Regions from separate parts of the Homo sapiens genome. Here all the other regions are linked to region 2. The links are contacts of gene promoters, found by promoter capture Hi-C in blood cells and fetal thymus (Javierre and others, 2016). All regions are on one chromosome and are shown on one strand. Each heading gives the region's core, a stretch centred on a gene start or on the middle of the fragment in contact. The rest is flanking DNA. Distances are from core to core; before and after follow the strand shown.

The links. Contacts are between HindIII fragments. The CHiCAGO score rates a contact against its expected background, and 5 or more counts as called.
Region 1: a fragment that was not itself captured here is called in contact with the fragment with the promoter of ZNF433 in region 2 in 2 of 17 cell types (erythroblasts and M1 macrophages); the score reaches 8.3 in erythroblasts.
Region 3: a fragment that was not itself captured here is called in contact with the fragment with the promoter of ZNF433 in region 2 in 9 of 17 cell types (naive CD4 T cells, M0 macrophages, monocytes and 6 more); the score reaches 6.1 in naive CD4 T cells.
Region 4: a fragment that was not itself captured here is called in contact with the fragment with the promoter of ZNF433 in region 2 in 6 of 17 cell types (total CD4 T cells, fetal thymus, M1 macrophages and 3 more); the score reaches 7.8 in total CD4 T cells.
Region 5: the fragment with the promoter of CNN1 here is called in contact with the fragment with the promoter of ZNF433 in region 2 in 6 of 17 cell types (M0 macrophages, total CD4 T cells, neutrophils and 3 more); the score reaches 6.6 in M0 macrophages.
Region 6: a contact is called between a fragment that was not itself captured here and the fragment with the promoter of ZNF433 in region 2, in 1 of 17 cell types (erythroblasts). The highest score is 5.1, in erythroblasts.
Region 7: a contact is called between a fragment that was not itself captured here and the fragment with the promoter of ZNF433 in region 2, in 1 of 17 cell types (erythroblasts). The highest score is 6.6, in erythroblasts.

What each region holds. Positions count from the first base shown.
Region 1 is chr19:12,427,735-12,430,446 of GRCh38, reverse strand. It overlaps ZNF443 (zinc finger protein 443), which reads left to right. Exons shown (of 4, transcript NM_005815.5): 4 at 1-741. The coding sequence ends at 291. Among named protein-coding and RNA genes, the nearest start is that of ZNF443, 12 kb to the left of the region's middle. The HindIII fragment of the contact is 194 bases long and covers 1,181-1,374 here.
Region 2 is chr19:12,033,830-12,036,949 of GRCh38, reverse strand. ZNF433 (zinc finger protein 433) reads left to right here and starts at 1,271. Exons shown (of 4, transcript NM_001308348.2): 1 at 1,271-1,413. The coding sequence starts at 1,411. It overlaps ZNF433-AS1 (ZNF433 and ZNF878 antisense RNA 1), which reads right to left. Exons shown (of 3, transcript NR_134929.1): 2 at 1,178-1,396. RefSeq lists silencers at 1,157-1,316, 1,557-1,606, 1,617-1,736. The HindIII fragment of the contact is 7,472 bases long and covers 1-2,225 here.
Region 3 is chr19:12,475,750-12,478,864 of GRCh38, reverse strand. All of the region lies in intron 1 of ZNF709 (zinc finger protein 709), which reads left to right. Among named protein-coding and RNA genes, the nearest start is that of ZNF709, 7.5 kb to the left of the region's middle. The HindIII fragment of the contact is 6,195 bases long and covers 1-3,115 here.
Region 4 is chr19:12,514,443-12,517,169 of GRCh38, reverse strand. No RefSeq gene overlaps it. Among named protein-coding and RNA genes, the nearest start is that of ZNF709, 31 kb to the right of the region's middle. The HindIII fragment of the contact is 8,614 bases long and covers 1-2,727 here.
Region 5 is chr19:11,537,442-11,540,503 of GRCh38, reverse strand. CNN1 (calponin 1) reads right to left here and starts at 1,653. Exons shown (of 7, transcript NM_001299.6): 1 at 1,514-1,653. The coding sequence starts at 1,576. RefSeq lists a silencer at 628-677 and an enhancer at 1,737-2,682. The HindIII fragment of the contact is 23,519 bases long and covers 1-3,062 here.
Region 6 is chr19:11,619,068-11,621,946 of GRCh38, reverse strand. It overlaps ZNF627 (zinc finger protein 627), which reads right to left. Exons shown (of 4, transcript NM_145295.4): 4 at 2,786-2,879. It also overlaps the pseudogene VN2R12P. Among named protein-coding and RNA genes, the nearest start is that of ZNF627, 23 kb to the right of the region's middle. The HindIII fragment of the contact is 6,209 bases long and covers 1-2,879 here.
Region 7 is chr19:11,649,228-11,652,309 of GRCh38, reverse strand. It overlaps the pseudogene ZNF887P. Among named protein-coding and RNA genes, the nearest start is that of ZNF627, 53 kb to the right of the region's middle. The HindIII fragment of the contact is 2,859 bases long and covers 1-2,679 here.

The sequences.
Region 1 (2,712 bases), core at 28-2,527, 390 kb before region 2:
CTACGACATGAAAGAATTCACATGAGAGAGAAATCCTATGAATGTCCACAATGTGGTAAAGCCTTCACTCATTCCCGTTTTCTTCAAGGACATGAAAAAACTCATACTGGAGAGAACCCGTATGAATGTAAGGAATGTGGGAAAGCATTTGCTTCTCTCAGTTCCTTGCATAGACATAAAAAGACTCACTGGAAAAAAACTCACACTGGAGAGAACCCATATGAATGTAAGGAATGTGGGAAAGCATTTGCTTCTCTCAGTTCCTTGCATAGACATAAAAAGACTCACTAGCATTCTCTCTAAATGTATGGAATGTGGGAAAGCATTTATTAATTTTATTTCATTTCAGATACTTGTACGAAACACATTGGAGATAGACCCTGTGAATGTAAGCACTTGGTAAAGCCTTAAGTAGTTTCAGTTTCTTTCCAGTACAGTCATCCCTTGATACCTGCTGGGTATTGGTTCCAGCACTCCGTGAGCCATGTCCAGTCCCTTTTATAAAATGACATGTTTGTATGTAACTTACCCACATCCTCTTGTATAGTCTCAATTATGTCTAGATTACTTAAAATACCTCATGCATTATAAAAGCTATGCAAATAGTTGTTCTATTGTATTGTTTAGGGAATCATGATAAGGAAAAGAGTCTATGTATTTTCAGTATAGATGCAGTAATTGTGAGCCTATCAACATAGTGTAGTCAGCCAGAACATTAAAGTTTCTTTGTTTCAACTCTCACCTATTTCTTCTGTTTAATGTGTTAACACTTACCAAAACCCTGGGTCTTCTCTCTTGATAACCCAAGTATAGTGATTATAACAATGATGATGATTCTGTGGTGCCCAGTGTTTTGATGTGTTGAGATGACTAGATGTATGGCATTGTGGGTAAGTAGTGAGACATCAGGTTAACTTGAATCTTGACAGGCCATCAGGACTATCATCTATGTTGGAAGAACCAACTTGTGATTATAGATGTGGACTCATTTGAGGAGGCTATGTAATACTAATGTTAGGATCTGTTTGGCTTGAGGGCTGAAGATCTGTAACCATTGAATGTTCCATCTTCTTTGCAGATGCTTAGTTATAGGAAGCTAGTTCTTCTTTTCCTTTGCTTCATTAAAAAAAAAATCTTGTGGTGCTTATAGGCATGTTGTTTCTCAGGTGGATTGAAAGCTTTGTTCCACTGTAGGATCTTTGAGGATCGTACCTCTTTTTCACCTTTGCCTACTGAAAAAACCATTGAATGTTCCGTCTTATTTGCAGATGCTTAGCTATAGGAAGCTAGTTCTTCTTTTCCTTTGCTTCATTAAAAAAAAAAATCTTGTGGTGCTTATAGGCATGTTGTTGTTTCTCAGGTAGATTGAAAGCTTTGTTCCATTATAGGATCTTTGAGGATCGTACCTCTTTTTCACCTTTGCCTACTGAAAAACTGTGGCAAACTTTTCAAGTGTCCAAATCAATGGCTCTGTGTCTTCTAAGTTTTCTAGCTCATCATCATCTGTAGTGGATTTCAGCAGACTTTGAAGTTCCTAGCTGGTAAGGGTTTCTCTTTGCTTTTCGGTGTGTTCCTTAACGTCATCCTCAGTCATTTCAGACAGCGTTCCCCACCAACTTTTTTTGCAACATTTCACATATTCTTAATAACTGCATTAATAGTAGGGAAGTCCTTGAAATCATTGACTCCCTTACCCCATGATGGCTTGTAACATGTATTGGCTGTCCTGGGCTTTAGGGCATCTGTAGCCTTCCCAATAAGCACAATTGTATTTGTAATTGTGAAGCTCTTCAATAAAACCACTGTGGTACATTCAAGGTTAGCATCAAGACTCCATGAATTCACCCAAGGATGTAAGTCACTTGAATGCACTTGATGCCTTGATCTAGTGACGCAGCAGTGATGTAGTTTTAGGAGGCAGAAATATCACTTGCATGTTCTTTTAGGCAAAACAGAGATTGGAGAGATGGCCTGGAGTGTTGTCAATTCTGAGGAAGACCTTGAGTGGCAGTCCCTTCTCTTTGAGGTATTCCATCACATCAGGAGTGAAGCATTGCTAGAAGAAAGCCTTCTTATGTTCTTGCCAGGACACAGGCCAGCAAGTTTTGCTTTTGTCCTAAAGAACCTGGTGATTGCTCAGTAGACGAAGCCTCGCTTGTTCTCATGAACTAATGCATGGCCTGACAGCACCAGAAAAAGGTGGTCTTTCCAGGCCTTGAACCCCAGTACCTGCACTCATGTATGAAGGTACCATTGGGCATCTTCTAGAACATGCCTGATTCATGACAATAGAAGATTTACTCTGGAAGGTAGTGTCTTTTTTCTGTTTTATGAGCTCTTCTAGGAATGCTGTTGTTTCCCTGGCATCAGCCGATGCCAATTCTCCTGTGGTCTTCAAGTTCTTGGGCTGCACTGTGTTGCATAGTTAGCCTAGCCAGAACTTACTGGCTTCAAACTCCTTCCTCTTGCTCTCCTCAGCCCCCTCACAGTGATGCTTACAGAGGCTAAGTGTTTTTTGTTTTCTTTTCTTTCTTTCCTTCTTTTTTTTTTTTCTTTTTTTTGAGACGGAGTGTTGCTCTGTCGCCCAGGCTGGAGTACAGTGGCGTGATCTTGGCTCACTGCAACCCCCACCTCCCGGGTTCAAGTGATTCTCCTGCCTCAGCCTTCTGAGTAGCTGGGATTACATGTGCGCGCCACCACACCCAGCTGTCT
Region 2 (3,120 bases), core at 22-2,521:
GCCTTCTGCTCACCAAATTATCTTTAAAACCCTAGCCTCGGCCGGGTGCGGGGGCTCAGGCCTGTAATCCCAGCACTTTGGGAGGCCGAGGCGGGTGGATCATGAGGTCAGGAGTTTGAGACCAGCCTGACCAACATGGTAAACCCCGTCTCTACTAAAAATACAAAAATTAGCCGGGCATGGTGGCGCATGCCTGTAATCCCAGCTACTCAGGAGGTTGAGGCAGGAGAATCGCTTGAACCCGGGAGGCGGAGGTTGCACTGAGCCGAGATTGCGCCACTGCACTCCAGCATGGGCGACAGAGAGATTCCGTCTCAAAAAAAAACCAAAAAAACAAAACCTAGCCTCCCATTTTTTAGGGAGACAGAATTGAATAAAAATAAAACTCTTCTCTTTCATTTAGCCGGCTCTATGTATATTAAACTCCACTGCAATTCCCTGTCTTTTTTTTTTTTTTTTTTTTCGGAGACAGGGTCTCACTCTGACATCCAGGCTGGTAAAATCACAGCTCACTGTGGCCTCGACCTCTCTGGGCTCAGGCGATCCTCTCATTTCAGCCTTCCGAGTAGCTGGGACTGCAAACATGTACCACCACGCCCGACTAATTTTTGTATTTTTTGTAGAGGCGGGGTTTTGCTATGTTACCCAGGCTGGGCTTAAGTTCCTAGGCTCAAGCAATCTGCCTGCCTTGGCTTCCCAAAGTGGTGGGGTTACAGGCATGAGCTACCCCCACCCCCCCAGCCCACCGCCGGACGAGCTAAAGTTTCTATTCAACAGTACTCTATGGCAGGGGTCCCCAACCCCCGGTCCATGGCCTGTAAGGAACCAGTCCGCACAGCAGGAGGTGAGCGGCTGGCGGGCGAGCCAGCGGGCATTATCGCCAGAGATATGCTTCCTGTCAGATCAGCAGAGGCATTAGTCTGTCATAGGAGCCCGAACCCTATTGTGAGCTGCACATGCGAGGGATCTAGGTTGGGTTCGCCTTATGAGGATAAAATGCCTGATCTGAGGTGGAAGTTTCATTCCGAAACTATCTGCCCCCGTAGGAGAACTGTCTTCCACGAAACCGGTTCTGGTGCTAAAAAGGTTACAGACCTCTGGCTTAAAGAATCTATCGCTGGATCCGGTCAAACCCGTTTTCAGAGCCCCGTTACCAAGGGCTTCTATTGTCACTCACGGCTGAGGGGGCGGGGCCCGGCGCTTCGTCCAATCAGGGGCGCTGGGCGGGGCCTGCCGAGTGTCCATCGGGGAGGGCGAAGGCCCTGCTCTCCTCGGTTCCCGGCTCCAGGCGGCGAGCTGAGGTTGGGAGCCTGGCTTTCCCCTCCGAGAGGGTTCAGGTGCCTCTGCCATAGCTTCTGTCGCCTGTGCTGTGACCCGCACTGGTCGTGGGAGTCACCTGAAAGGCAAGAAATGGTGAGCGTGCGGGCCAGGGGTCCCGAGGCGGGGGAGGAGCTGGTTGGAACCGGCCGGAACCGGCTGTGGTGGGACCCGGGCCTCCCCGCGGCGACTCCGGGGTCTGGGACCCGATTTCCCGTGGGACAGCTCGGCCCTTGGTCCCCTTGGCCCCACAGTGGGGCTGGGCCGGCCGCCGGGACCCGGGCGTCTCGTCCTGTCCCTGCGCGGTGACTGTCACCCAGTTCCCAGAGCCCTCTCTGGGCAGCTCCGCGCCCGCTGCCCCGCGTCTCCCCACATTGTGCGGGGACTACGCGAGGGTCATGGGGGGATCCCGCCTCGGGTGTGGGGGTTTGTGTAGGAGGAGGGTGGGCTGTGGGGTCCCCAGTAGCGCCTTTCTCCTCTTAAAAATTAAACTGAGACACGTTAACAATTATAGTTTTGCTTCTCAGAATAGGTTTTAAAAAATATATTAATAATTAGAGTTCCTTTGAGATTCCTGAATGATAAACACCCAGTCCTGGCTTGTAATTTGTTAACGGAAAATGCCAAGCTGTGTAAAATAACTTAAAGAAGTTTATTCAGAGCCGAATAGGAGAGGCCTCAGCTGAGGAAAACACAACCCCAGGAGGCCTGAAGTAAGTGGTCCCGAGGCGGCTCAAGACTGTTTTTATTCATTTCAGGGAGACAGGAATTGCAGGGAGAATCATGCATCAATGCCTGGAAAGGTGTAAGTTCCTTTGGCAGAAAGGGCGGGACCTGTGGAAGGGGGGTTAGAAGGTGCAGGTGGTTGAGGGATTCTGAAGGTGGCCGTTGGTGGAGAGTGTGAAGCTTTGTCTAAAACTTCGAGGCGGTAGGAAGGATTGCTTAAGTGAAGAGGGTCTGGTATCTGTCATATGATTTCATCCCACCCAAAACAAAAGACCTGTTTCTTTAGATTTTGTGAATTCTAAGATTTGACTTACCTCTTGCCTTGCATGGCCTTAGGTCTTGTTTGTAATTTGGTTTCTTATTGTCACAGAGAGTCTGTGTTTCCAGTTGGCTGATGTCTGTTTTAACATGAAGGTGGGTCAGTGGCTATGTGGAAACTCCTAAAGGAAGCGGGTATAATGAGGCCTGTCCAGGTATAGTGAAGCCTGTCTGATGGTTAATCTGTAGTCAAGTGTGGGAGGGTTCCAGCTGGCTCTTTCCAGTGTCAGGTGACTCAATTCCAGAGTCACATTACTTTAAACTTCAAGATAATTTAGAGTTCCAACAGCTTCAATTTTTGAATTACTTATTTTCACAGACCATACAGTGGAAAATTTTTGGTTGTATAATCAGAGGTTACTCGACCAATTGTACCTGGTTAAGCCCATATTTCATTTCCCAATAAATTAGTAACTTGTTATTGTTTTCTCAGGCCACATACCGTCACATAAGTTAGTACTTTATATGAATAGCATTTGAATTTGATTTCCATGTTCTTGGCCAAGATCTTAGAGTACTATAGGCATTAAGTTTAATTACTTCTTATTCAAAATTTTCAACACTCCCCAGTTAACTGGTACTTCTCTGCATTTTCCAAATATATGGGAAGTGAGATCTCAAACCCTCCACCCTGTGACCCTGGCCTACCTCTGGAGAGCTTGCAGTACAATACTAAAATTTCAGTTCCTTTCTAAAATTTGCAGACACCAACTCTCCTTCTTCAATTTGTAGTATCAACTATTTGTTTTTGTTTTTGTT
Region 3 (3,115 bases), core at 349-2,848, 440 kb before region 2:
TCTTCTCCTCGTGCTGCACACCTGGGCAAGCTGAAAAAGTCTGGGAGCAGGAAATTCAAACCACAGAAGCTCCTGCCCTTGAGCAGGTACTCTCTTGTAGCCCCACCCCCAAACTACAATAAAAACCCAGGCCAGGAGGCTTTCTTTGCTCTCTGAAGCTATGTCACACCTGCTTGGGCAGCCTGCCCTGCTTTCCCCAAGACCTCAATGATCACAGTAGTGAGTCTTTTCATACCCTTTGGTGTCTGTTCTCCACGCTGTTATTAGTGTCAACATTGGAACGACACAGGAATTGTTACCATGAGCATGGTGTTCAGACATTGACTGTCACCCCATGGGTCTGTCTTCTCTTGCACTGAATTGCTACCTGCTCTGTTGCCTGATGGCCAGCATGCACTTTCAGCTGCTGCTTTCTGGGAAGCTACTACTTTGAGTTGTGCTACTCTGTGCTGCATGTTGAGCCCTGCCAAGTCTGGGTTCTATGTTTAGCCAACTGGAGTTGGCCGTTTTGATAATTCCTTGGCTTTTTTGAAGAGGAATATGAGATTTGATACTCCTTAAAGTGGTCCTGGGTAGTGTTTCTTGGCCTGGACTTATCTGTGTGTTTTAGAGTGAAGCTGTGACTGCTGCTGACCTGGCATACAAGGTGCTCATGGGAAAGACTACCTGCCAGAGCAGTCATTTTTGAAAAAGAGACAAAAGAGAGGGGGAAAGGCAGCTGTTAGATGGTGGGCCGAGTCCACACTCCTAATAGCACAGGGCTCCCAAGGACCCTTAAGTGTTGCTGCTGTTGCTCTATTGCAGCAAGGATGCTGACCCTCAGGATTATAGGGCACACTCATGTTTCCTCTGCAGCATTGCAAAGGGTTCATTCAAAGCCAGCTTAAGGCCCAGGTGCTTAAACTTTATAAAGCAACCATGAGGGACAGGCCCCTAAGCCTGATAATAGTGATTTGTGGCTCTCTGGAGGGAAAAGAACACCCCTCCCCTGTAGAGAGGATTTTGCTGTCAAAATATATCCAGGGACAAAAACAAAAACAAAACAAACATGTTAGGAAGGAAAGGAACAAAAGAAAAAAATGCTGAAAAAGAGGTCCACAATTTGACCCAATTGGAAATTCCAAATAGACTAAAGGAATTTAGACGGCAAAAAAGATAAAAGAGCCTCTATATCATAGGTTCTGTATTAATTTTAACATCTTATGTAATGTATTAATTAACACACTATAGGATTAGCCAATACAAGGGCTCAAATTATGGTTATACCTGGGAGACCCACTAAAATTTAAGCAAGGTATCCCCTGATAATCTTAAGGGAGTTACTGAATATAAAATAGAAGACAAATAAGTATGTCTCATCTTAGCCATCATAACTGTGCCTAAATTCCCCATGTTCATGGCACCCAGTGTCCTAAAATACGCCAGAATGAACAGGTAAACTCTAAACCAGTGAGTCATAAGTGAAATTTAAATTAAATCTTTGGCACTTACAAACTGGCTTGACAGAATGAGACCCTGTGGAACTTACTCCCCAGTTAAATTAGTTATGATGGCTCAATATAAATTGAACAGGGCCTTGAAGGGTTGAAAAGTATTATGTAAAACTTGTTTAGTGAGGAAGTGATTATTCCCCGTGCTTCTCGTTTTAAAAGTACAGTTTGGCCTTTCTTAAACTTGGAGAGAATGAATGGCAACCCACAATGGATTACCATAACCTTAATGCTGTGGTCCCACCCATTAAGCCCCTATACCAATATCCAACATGGAAATTACTGACACCATCCAGCTGATCTCACAGATTTCACCATCTCACAGGCTAATTATATAACTTTACCTAGTTTCCCAAGGGAACCTCAACAGCCTTGCTGTTGCACAGTCTTTGCAGGCAAAATCTGAACTGCATCCACCTTTCTCTAGAACACAGGTATGATATTACATTAATGACAGCCTTGTCTGAGGACATTGTTTTGGCATTCATTCAGGACACATAAATACTGAAAAAAAAAATAGAGCTTACAAAAAGTCCATTGCCCCATATATAAAATAAGAGACCTTTATGTTTTGGTTAAGTTCCTAAAAACCATTTGGTAAAAGGAGGGCCGCTCCATCCCTGACACTACTATGAAATAGCTATTGTCCCTCTGACTACCCACAGCATCTTCTAGGTTCTTTTGATGTTCTGGAGGCAACATATTCCTTGTTTATAAATTTTACTTAACCACTTTATGCTGTTAATTGCAAATTGGCCCACCTTAAGTGGGTCCCCCTACCGCAAAAGGCTCTAGAGTCTTTTTCATTCTCTTAACACAGAGCTTTCATAGAGAAGGAGCTTTTGCATTTTAATGAAGTCAAACTTACTGATTTATTTTGTATGGATTTTGCTTATATCTAAACATTTGTCACCAAACCCAGGGTCACCTAGATTTTCTTCATTAACTTTTAGTATCCTATAACTTTACTTTTTTTTTTTTTTTTGAGGCAAGTTCTCCCTCTTGCCCAGGCCAGAGTGCAGTAGTGCAATCTTGGCTCACTGCAGCCTCAACCTCCTGGGCTCAAGCACTCCTCCCACTTCAGCCTCCTGAGTAGGTGGGACTACAAGCGTGCACCACCACACCTGGCTAATTTTTGTATTTTTTGTAGAGATGGGGTCCTACTTAGTTGCCCAGGCTGGTCTCAAACTCCTGACTTCAAGCTATCCTCCTGCCATGGCCTCCCAGAGTGCTGGGATTACAGGCATGAGCCACTGCTCCTGGCCTAGATTTTACATTTAGTTCTGTGATCCATTTTGAGCCAGTTTTTGTTTAAGGTGTAACGTCTGTTTCTAGATTTGTGTTTTTTTCATTGTGTTTTGCATGTGGATGTTCAGTTTTTCCAACACTGTTTGTTGAAAAAGGCTATCTTTTTTCATTGAATTGCTGTTGGTCATTTGTTGAAAATCAGATGACTCAGTGAGTCTATACTATACTAATGTGAGTCTGTAAGAAGGCAATTGACTTTTGTATATTAAGATTATATCCTCAACCTCTAGTTTGAGGAGTTTGTTGTGGATTCTTTGAGATTTTCTACTTAGACAATCATGTCACATGCGACAAAGACAGTGATATTTCTTTGTTCC
Region 4 (2,727 bases), core at 192-2,691, 480 kb before region 2:
TCACTACATTAAGGAACTGGGAGGAGGTGGAGAACTGGAAACAGTGTTAACAGTGAATAAACCCTGCTTCTCCTATGAGAAAGTTAAACTTGTATTTAAAATGGATGTCAAGGCAACATAAAATTATAAGAATTCACTACAAGTTTTGAGAATCAGTGAAATCCAACCATGGTTCACAGGGTTAATCGCTTTCTTAACAACCTATGAAAGTTAAATCAGCCAGGCACAGTGGCTCACGCCTGTAATCCCAGCACTTAGGGAGGCTGAATCAGAAGAACTGCTTGATTTCAGGAGTTTGAGACCAGCCTGGGCAATATAGTGGGACCTCATCTCTACCAAAAATTTAAATATTAGCCAAACATGTTGGTGCACACCTGTAGTCCCAGCTACTCAAGGGGTTGGGGTGGGAGGATTGCTTGAGCCCAGGAGGTGGAGGTTGCAGTGAGCCAAGATTAAGCCACCGCACCCCAGCATGGGTGACAGACTAAGACCCTGTCTCAAAAACAAACAGAAATGGTAAATCATGTAAATAAAAGCAAACAACATGTTATTTTTATATCTATTAATTGCATATAGTCCTCCAGAAAACCGATTTGAGTCATTTTCCAGAAAGGGAGTCAGTGGAGCTCCTTGTAGTGAGGGCACGTTAATATCTGTATACTCTCCCTGGGGTGTGGATGTTTTAGGGTTGTGCTGAGATCTCCAATGTTTACAGCAGGTTGATGGTCAGCTTAAAATATTCTGTGTTGGCTGGGCGCGGTGGTTCATGCCTGTAATCCCAGCACATTGGGAGGCTGAGGCGGGTGGATCATTTGAGGTCAGGAGTTCGAGACCAGCCTGGCCAACATGGTGAAACCCTGTCTCTACTAAAAATGCAAAAAAATTAGCAAGGTTTGGTGAGGCATGCCTGTAATCTCAGCTACTCTGGAGGCTGACCAGGAGAATCGCTTGACGTGGGAGGTGGAGGTTGCAGTGAGCTGAGATCATGCCACTGCACTCCAGCCTGGGTGACTCCATCTCAAAAAAAAAAGTGAGACTCCATCTCAAAAAAATAAATAAAATAAATTTTCTGTGTCCTCAATGATCAGGTGGTGACACAGGTTTGGGGGAACAGAAGCAAATACAATGAATGAGGTTCCTACTCAAGATATCACAGTCTATCCTGGAAGACAAATGCAAATGATTATATCAGAGGATCTGAGAGAATCACAGGTGTATTCAACCTGAGTCCTCTTTGAAAGGGACAGTTATTTATACAATGCTTAATGTTTAGCTACAGAAATAATTGGGTGGGTCAATGGTGGTGGGGTGGGGTTGAGAGAGATTCAGATGGATAAACTGGACATGAACATCCCCAGCCACAGAGCACCTGGTGACAACCATGTACTGTGAAGGTCAGGTGGCCACTGAAACAGAGAAAAAAGGGAAGAGCTCACATTTGATTAGTTCTTTTCATAAGTGTTAATGTGAAAATAATAGTTCGCTAGCATCTTTGTTTTCTAAAAGGAATGCTTATTTGCCAATTTTAAAATATATTTATTTAAATCTTTTTAGAGACAGAGTCTAACTCTGTTGCCCAGGCTGGAGTGCAGTGGCACAATCTTGGCTCGCTGCAGTGCTGACCTCTTAGGCTCAAGTGATCCTCCTGCCTCAGCCTCCTGAGTAGCTGGGACCATGGATGCGCATCACCATGCACTGCTAAGTTTTTAAATTTTTTTCTAGAGGTGAAAATCTATGCTGCCCAAGCTGGTCTTGAATTCCTGGGCTCAAGCGATCCTCCCACTGCAGCCTCCCAAAGTGCTGGGATTACAGGCACAAGCCATTACTTACGCCCACTCCAGTGTTTTAATCCATATAAAATATTTTAAGATTTTCTTCCTCTGATTTGTATGTAAACACAGGAGGAAACGTAGGACTTTGCTGGTTTCTTTCTCATACAGTACGATAGAGAGTCTTTGTCTCATGTAGCTGATCAGTGCTGGTGAGAAGCAGGTGAAGAACCTGCAGTGGGCAGCAGCGCCTGCAGCCAGTGACTCCAACCTGAGGCCAGTCTGGAGCCTGCAAAGGGAGGGAAATGGAGCTCCTCATGTGGCTTTCTGGGCAGCCTGTTGTCTCCGTAGGTGGCCTCTGGTTGCTCAGAACAGCTACAGGAGTGCAGATTCTGAGAAGCAGAGCCCTGGAAAGCAAAAGATTCATGTGAAGACATGCTTGGGGTGTTCTGTCCTTTCTCAGGCTAACTATTTTCTGGGCAATGTGTTTGTTTTGGCATACATAGGGTCATTGTGGTCCAACTGTAATTTGTATATGTGAAGTAAATCTGGCATGGTCAGGCTCAGATAAAGACTCATTTTGGAGAAAGGATTTATGTAGCTGATAGTTTATGTAGGTTAGAATGTTAAACTGACTCCAGGTAAGAGTCTCCTGCAGGTGTAAATGAAGGTCTTGAAGGAGGCAGCTTTTCCACACTGTGTGGAGGGTACATAAGGGCATGTTGAGCTCCCAGAGTTAAATCCTTAGGTTTCCCTACCTCATCAGGAGGGTCTGATCGACCTGGGCATCCATTTCAGTAGTCAAGAGTCTGACTCCCAAGATTAAGAATATGTTAAACCTGAATGCAGGTGTTCCTTGTGAACTGTGGGTGAAGCCTGCTTGCCTGAGCTAGTTCAAATGTTTGCTTTCCTTTTGATTCCTTTATGGAATAATGCTGCCATATAACTATGCATTTAA
Region 5 (3,062 bases), core at 404-2,903, 500 kb after region 2:
CTCCCTCTTATCCCCCCGACTCCTCTGTCTCTCTCTTCCCCAGCGCTGTCTTTTCTTGGCCCAGTCTTGGGTCCCCATCTCTCTAGGTGGCTAGTCCCTGTCTGGCCAGGGGTAGGGCTCCTGGGTCTTGTATATCTGCCTCTCTAGGTCTTTCTCTGTCTCCAGGTTTCCTGCCTGGGGTGGGGGTGGTGGGGCTCTGTCTCCTCTCCCTGCCCCTCCATCCTTGTCTAGGTCTTATCTCGCTCCTGGCTCGCCCTCCCCCGTCTGTCCCTAGGGTGTCTCAGGCTCCCAGTATCTCTGTCTGCCTCTCCCCCCACCTCCCTGCTTTTCCCTCTCTCCACTGTCCCCCCCCTCCCCCACTCCACTCCCATTTCTCCAGAACCCTCCGCCCAAGCCCAGCCAGGCTCCCAGCCCCTAGGGGACCGGGCTGCCTCTTCTTCTCCCGGGTGAGTGGGGGGAGGTGGGAGGGGCGGCCCCCTCACCTGGCCCTGGCCCTGCCGCCCCCCACGCCACCAGCCCGGCTTTATAAAGCAAACCGGCCCTTATATAGCGTGGCCCGGGCTCCCCGAGGCCGCCTTATAAGGCGCGGCGTCTCTGCGCGGCTCTGCGCGGCTCTGGGGCCGGCGCTGGGGGGGAGGAGGGCGGCGCTGGGATCTGTCTCTCGCCCGAGGACCCGCCCCCCACCAGCCCCCTCCTCCAGCCCCGAGATCCCTCGACCCAGGTTCCAACCCAGTCCCCCACTTCCTCACCATGGGACCCTGGGAAAAGCCACCCTGAGCCTCAGTGTTCCCCTCTGTCAAATGGGGCAGGAACTCCTCCCTCGGCAATACTGTTGGGGCGATTCCAGTGGGCTGGAAACTTAAAGTTCTCCAGCTGGGAGAAGCTGAGCCCATCCTGGTGTATGGGGGGTGAGTCCAGGGTCCGAGCGCTGTACCTGCTTTACCTGGGACCCCAGCTATTTGCCTCTCCTCTCCGAACCTCAGTTTACCCAACCATAGCATGAAGGTGGTGTCCAGGTATCTTCCTAGCTCCACAGTCAGGAGACCCCTGCCGCACTTCTGATGCCCGCTTCCTGCCTTTCACCGTCCCCCTCTGTCTTCAGGATCTCCCACACTTTCACGGCGTCACTTCCCAGGTACCCCAGCACTCAAGCGCTCCCCAATTTCTTTGTCAGGCCGGGGGATATGGAAAAATCAACAAGTCTTCCCCCTATGTTGTTCCCCCCAAGAACACGAAGGGTTAACAGAAGACTGATCAGGTGGGTATCTTTGCAATGGACTGACCCCCTCTGTTTATGTGTGGCTGTGTGCCCCCCCATTCCAGCCCCAACCATAGCTGGGGGCTCCGGGATGTTCAGGGGGAGACAGGCAGCCCCTATCCCATATCACTCCCTTTTCCCCTCTCAGTTTCCAAGTCACATAGGATAGGCAGGAGGGGGTTCAAGGGACCCCAAGCTCAGGGCTCTGGCCTGGCAGGACGTGTGGGCCAGGCCAGGGAGGCCCTCCAGCCCTACCTTGTTCTTAACCTCGGCTGACAGCCCGTAGGCAGGGCCTCGGTTGAAGTGAGCAGAGGACATGCTGGCCGGTGGGCTCTGGCGGGGGCAGTGGCGGCACTGACGCTGAGAACAGAGGCAGCGGCTGAAGTTCCGTCTGCACACTCTTCCCTCCTCACATGTTTTTGAAGCTCCGGAGGCGACCCGGGTCTCTTCCAGGGCCGTTCCATTGGCTGTAGGGGCCTGCCAAGGGGCGGGGCACCTCCCCCCACAACCTCAGCTGCCTTCCCCTCCCCTTGTGATGTCAGGCCCTTGGTATTGGGAGCTGATTGTGTCATTGTTTCCACCTAGGGGGGCAGCCTGCGTTATTCTGGGGGGGCTTGGTCAGACAGAGACCAGCCTTCTTCCACCCACCCCTCCCACTGTCCATTGGGCCTCTGGCTGGGTCTGAGTCTCTTTGTCTCTGAGGTCATCTCTCTTTATCTCTCTGGAGTCTTGAAGCAGGACTGACACCCAAGGTAGTTTAGTGAGCACCATCCCGGGTTTATCTCCAGATACCAACAGTCTATAGCCTTAGGTAAGCCCCTTCTCCTCTCTGGGCCTCTATGGCCACATCTGTAAAATGGGCTAACGATAGTGCCTGCCTCATGGGAGAGTTGTAAAGATCAGAAGAATATGCCTGTTACATGCCCAGCACAGTGCCCGGCACAGCAGAGGGACTCGGGCCATAGCAGTCTTTTTAAGGCAAGGTTTCACTCTGTCCCCTCGGCTGGAGTGCAGTGGCACAATCACAGCTCACTGCAGCCTTGACCTCCCAGGCTCAAGTGATCCTCCCATCTCAGCCCATCCAAGTAGTTAGAATTGCAGACTTGTGCCACCAACCTGGCTAATTTTATTTTATTTTTTTAGAGATGGGGTCTCGCTATGTTGCCCGGGGTCTCGCTATGTTGCCCAGGCTGGTCTCAAATTTCTGGGCTCAAGCAATCTGCCCGCCTTGGCCTCCCAAAACGCTGGGATTTACAGGCATGAGTCACCATGCCCAGCCTATAGCATTCTTTATGCTGAGGGTCCAGCACCCCAGTTCTGTCTCCTCCAGCCCCTCATAAGGACCTGGGGGAGAAGAGATCCTGGGTCTCACCCTCCCCATCCACTTGTGTGTCACCTGAACTACAGGGTGACTTTGTTGGCAAGTCCCAGGCCGTGAACTGTGTCCCTGTCAAACAGCCCTACCCAGCCAGATCTCACCCCTGGACCACAGGGGTGGATGCTATGCCCACATCATGCCCCACATGGCAAGGCCATGTTTGTGACACTTGGATGACATGTCTGCAACCTGCCACACACTAATGATATGTTGAGGATATGCAGTTTATCGGTCACATGCTAATGGCATGGCTGCAATATGCCACAGACTACAGCCCTTATGTCAGGCCATGTTCCAACTCTGTACATATATCCATTCAATTCTCATGACGCCCTCAGAGATGGACACTGTTATTATTATTATTATTATTATTATTATTATTATTTGGAGACAGAGTCTCTATTCCCCAGGCTGGAGTGCAGTGAT
Region 6 (2,879 bases), core at 317-2,816, 420 kb after region 2:
GAGCCAGCTGAGCCTGGGTGCAAAGAGAGAGAGAAGGCCTAACAGAGTCACAACACAGTTCTAATGCTATGTTTTCTGTAAAATCAGATGGACCGCCAATCGGACAATGAGAGCTGCTCAGCCTGGCCTTACATTCTTTCAATTAATACATAAACAAAAAGGGGGATATGCAGGGAGCCGAAGGCCCGTGGGACGTGACCAACTCAGCATTCCGCAGGAGTCTATATGGGATCAAACAGCAAACTGTTTATCATGAATGCAGGATGTGGGCAAACTCACTGCCCTGCCACCAAAAGGTTTGCTGAGGGACATCACTCCCTGGCACTGGGCTCCTTGAAGTTATCTACTGAGAAAATTAGTGCCTATTGTCCAAAGGATGCAGTCTCACAAGCCTGGTGTGAACCAAATGGCCAACTGACAATTACCCAACAATCACCCCCCGCTTTTCTCGCTCTTTTGTCTAATAAATACAGAGGGCTGTGTAAAGCTCGGGGCCCTTGTCCACTAGAGGCAAGGTGCCCCCCAACCCCTTCTTCCAAATATACTCTTTTGTCTCTTGTCTTTTATTCCTGTGTTTGCTCCCGTTTGTTCAGTCCAATAGGTCCAAGGCGGGTCAGGCTGGTCTCGGACTCCTGACCTCAGGTGATCTGCCCACCTCAGCCTCCCAAAGTGCTGGGATTAGAGGCGTGAGCCACTGCGCCCAGCCGGCATTGCTTTTCTAATCAGATGAAGAACAGTGTATGCTGTCAACAGAGCATCAGGACTCAAACAGAAAGCCACATCACTGCCTTCCAAAAGTGGTGGCCCTCTGGTTTATGAACACTCTTTGGGCCTGTGCTACAATGTCCTCTCTGGGGTGTTTGTGAAGCATCAAGATACTCCCACAGTCAAGGCCAATAATCAGGCTCAGCTGTGTCCTGTTCATCTCCCTCACCCTGTGCTTCCAGTGTCCCCTACCTTCACTGGTCATCCCCACACAGCACCTGCATCCCAACACAGCACCTGCATCCCGGGCAAAATCACATTTGGAGTCGTGTTGATGGTGGGGTTTCTACTCTGTGGCCCACACTATCACTGTGGGTGTTGCCTTCAAGGGAGAAGGACTCAGTGGTTGGATTCAGTAGCACCTAACTCTGTATTGCCCTCTCTAATCCAAATGACTGTAGAATCTGACAGGCAATGACTCCACCCTTCACTCATGTGAATACATTATCTGGGGCTGAATATGTCATCTCCACATACAGTCATGGTTTGGTTGCTGATTGCTACTCTATCCTGTGATACCTGGGCTTTTGACACTGAGAAGTTTCAACAGGGATTTTCTCAACAAGAGCTTGCTGGACACCTTCAACGAAGTGATTGGATTGTTCCGTGGAAGTGTACAGACAAAAAGCTGACTTTTGCATGTTGCTTTTTACTCTGTAGTGCTGGCATAAGAGGCCTATTGATAAATTAGAAGCAAAAGCATATATGCCAGGAACAGTGGTTCATACCTGTAATCCATTCCAGCACTTTAGGAGGCCGATGCGGCCAGATCACCTGAAGTCAGGAGTTTGAGATCAGCCTGGCCAACATGGTGAAACCCTGTCTGTACTAAAAATACGAAACAAAAATTAGCCGGGTGTGATGGTGGGCACCTGTAATCCCAACTACTCAGGAGGCTGAGGCAGGACAATCACTTGAACCGGGAAGCAGAGGTTGCAGTGAGTTGAGATTGCACCACTGCACTCCAGCCTGGGTGATAAGAGTGAAACTCTTGTCTAAAAAAACAAAAACACAAAAACAAAAACAAAAGCATATTATTGGAGCAAGAAAGGCTTGGTTGGAATATTGATGCTGACTTTGTTCCCTTCCTAGGCTTGCATTCAGAAAATGTGCATAAATATATTAGTCTCATTAGACTCGTAAAGGAGCTTTTTAAAAGTATTATACAGCTTGCTAAGAAGTAAATTTACATATTTTAACTGAGGTACATAATGGAAAACAGTGTCCAGTACATCACAGGAAATACTTCAGTGTTCAGAGAATAAGTAAGGCAAAAACAGGTCCACAAGTCCAGGAGCCAGCCTCCGCTCACTGCAAGGCCAAGTCTTACGCTGTTGGAGAGAAACATGTCAGACACCAGCAATGTGAGACCATGCTCCTAGGTGGCTATGATGAATCAAGACAAAAAAAGGGCATTCTGTAACCATGTCTTTAAAACTGGTGAAAGACAGCATGTTCCAAATCATAAACATGACCCAAATTCCCCTCTTCTCACTAATATGACTGAGTGGTATTTCTCATGAATTACGTTTACCTCCACTCCATTCCTTTTCCCTTCTGGATAAGAACAGTTATGATTACCAAGTTTAGAATTAAGTTTACCTCATCACTGCATCAAATACAGAGAATCATCTTGCTTCCCTGAACATAAATCAATCAACCTGGCCAGGTGCGGTGGCTCATGCCTGTAATCCCAGCACTTTGGGAGGCCGAGGCAGGTGGATCACGAGGTCAGGAGTTTGAGACCAGCCCGACCAACATGGTGAAACCCCGTTCACTACTAAAAGTACAAAAATTAGCCGAGTGTGGTGGTGTGCACCTGAAATCCCAGCTACTCTGGAGGCTGAGGCAGGAGAATTGCTTGAACCTGGGAGGTGGAGGTTGCAGTGAGTTGAGATCGCACCACTGCACTCCAGCCTGGGCAACAGAGCAACACTCTATATCAAAAAAAAAAAAAAAATAGAAATCAACCAACCTATAACAAGCACAAAACCTGTAAGAAATTCTTCTGAGCACCCTCTTACTGATACATCACACAGTCCTTTATGGTTTGTGGTCATGATTATTATTACAGTTTATTACACCCTCTTTGACAACAGGTATGGTCTCTGCGG
Region 7 (3,082 bases), core at 1-2,500, 380 kb after region 2:
TTGCATTCATAGGGCTTCTCTCCAGTGTGGATTCTTTCATGTTTTTTAATGGAACTGGAACAACTAAAGGTTTTCCCACATTGCTTACATTCATATGGTTTCTCCCCGGTGTGCATTCTTTCATGTCTATGAAAGGAGCTGGGAAAACCAAAGGCTTTCCCACATTCATTACATTCATATGGCTTCTGTCCAGTATGAGATCTTTCATGTGTGAGATATAAACTGAGATTATCAAAGGCTTTCCCACAAAACTTACATTTATAAGGTCCATCTCCACTGTGCACTACCCTGTATCTTCGAACGGTTTGGGGAGAATCGAAGGTTTTTTCCCATTCCTTACAATCATAGGGTTTCTCTCCTGTGTGAGGCTTTTCATGTGTTTGGAAGGAGTGGAGGCAGCTGAAGGTTTTTACACACTGCTTACATTTATGTGGCTTCTCTCCATGTTCCTGACACTCATACGGTTTGTGTCCAGTGTCAGCTCTGATGTAGCAATTCAGAGATGAATGATCCACGTTGCCTTCTCCACACACACTGCTTTCACATGGTTTTACCCCAGGAAGAGTGTTCTTGTTCATTATACCATCTGGAATCAGGCTGAAAGTTTCTCCACATTGACCATCTTTACATTCACAGAGTCTCTCTGCCATATGATTTCTATAAAAAATAAGAAGCACATTACAAAGAATTTGTTGATAAATAATTTTATATTAGCAAGCATTTGATTTGCATATTTTACATTATCATGAGAAATGTAGGCTTTATGTTCTGTCTGAAGTGTCTGACAGTGAGTGGACTGAATTCTCTGCAAAGGGGCTCTATTACAGCTATTATCAAAACAGTGATGTTACTAGGCAGTTTCTTTTTTCTTATTCTTTTTTTTTTTTTTTTTTTCCTGAAACAGGGTCTCACTCTGTTGCGCAGGCTGGAATGCAGTGGTATGACCACAGCTCGCTGCAGCCTCCACCTTCCAGGCTCAGACAGTCCTCCCACCTCAGCCTCCCAAGTAGCTGGGCCTACAGGCATGCGCCACCAGGCTTGGCTGATTTTTTTTATTTCTTGTAGAGATGAGTTCTCACTGCATTGCCCAGGCTGGTCTCAAACTCCTGGGCTCAAGCAATCTTCCCATTCAGACTCCCAAAGTACTGGGATTACAAGCATCAACCACCACATCTGGCCACTATGGGGTTTCTTTATTTTTTTATTTTATTTTATTTTTGAGACGGAGTTTCACTCTGTCACTCAGGCTGGAGTGCAGTGGCACCATCTCGGCTCACTGCAAGCTCCACCTCCTGGGTTCACGCCATTCTCCTGCCTCAGCCTCCCAAGCAGCTGGGACTACAGGCGCCCACCACCATGCCTAGCTAATTTTTTTGTATTTTTAGTAGAGATGGGGTTTCACCATGTTAGCCAGGATGGTCTCGATCTCCTGACCTCGTGATCCGCCCTCCTCAGCCTCCCAAAGTGCTGGGATTAAAGGCGTGAGCCACCGCACCCGGCCACTATGGGATTTCTTAATACTGTTTCCAAGGCAACTATTTTGCAAACAATGAATGTGTATGTATTTAAGTATATATTTTTGGAGAAAACATTCTAAAAATTAACAAATTTGAAGCTGGGCTGCTTCACTTTGTTTGCTTGTTCTTTAAATTTCCACTGGGCACAGTGGCTCATGCCTGTAATCCTAGCATTCTGGGAAGCCAAGAAAGGAGGATGGCTTGAGTCCAGGGGTTCAAGGCTGCAGTAAGCTATGATCATGCCACTGCACTCTAGCCTATGTGACAGATTAAGCCTTGTCTCAGATACATGAATACATAAGTAAATAAATATAATTTCCTATCACTCTAACATTATCTCAAGGGACACAGCTTCATGTTATAAGTGCAAATTACCTTGGATTTCTCCTGGAATTTTTGTACTGATCTTCAATGTTCCGGTCTTCCCATTTTATTCCTAAAATGTAGACCCATAAAAGTCATGATAAATGATTACAAAATTATAGAAACATTTTAGATTCTATGTTCATGGGACACTGTGACCATGCCTGACTTATTCACCAAAATATTATTGACCCTTGAACAAAATGGGCTTGCATGGCACAAGTCCACTCATATGCAAACTTTTATCAACCTCTGCTGCCTCTGAGGGAACAAGACCAACCCCTCCTCTTCAGGCTACTCAATGTGAAAACAATGAAAAGGATTCCTTTAGGATGATCCACTTAATCAAGTCAATATGTTTTCACTTCCTTATGATTTTCTTGATAATATTTCTTTTTTCTAGCTTACTTTATTATAAGAATACCATATATAATAGACCAAACAGACCAGGCATGGTGGTTTATACCTATAATCCCAGCACTTAGGGATGAGGTGGGAGGACTGCTTGAGGCTAAGAGTTTGAGACCAGCCTGGGCAACATAGCAAGACCTCCATCTCCACAAAAAATAATTTAAAAATCAGCCCAGCATGGTGGCACTTGCCTACAATCCTAGCTACTCAAGAGTCTGAGGCAGGAGGATTGCTTGACCCCAGGAGTTCTAAGTTGTATTAAGCTATGACCATGCCCCTACACTCCAGCCTGAGTAACAAAGTGAGACACTGTCCTAATATACACTTACACATACACACCAACACACAAAATATGTATTAATTGACTGGTTATGTTACTGATAAAGCTTCCAGTCAACAATAGGCTATTAACATTTAGCTTTTTTTCTTTTTATTTGAGACGAAGTTTCACTCTCGTTGCCCAGACTGGAGTGCAGTGGCATGATCTCAGCTCGCTGCAACCTCCACCTCCCAGGTTGAAGCAGTTCTCCTGTCTCAGCCTCCTGAGTAGCCAGGATTACAGGTGCCTGGCACCATGCTTGGTTAATTTTTTGTATTTTTAGTAGAGATGGGGTTTCACATTGGCCAGGCTGGTCTCAAACTCCTAACCTCAAGGGATCCACCCACCTCGGCCTCCCAAAGTGCTGGGATTACAGGTGTGAGCCCCTGCACCCGGCCAACAGTTAACATTTTATAGAGTCAAAAGTTAAAACCAGATCATCAACTGTGCAGAGGTTAAGAGTCTCTGACAC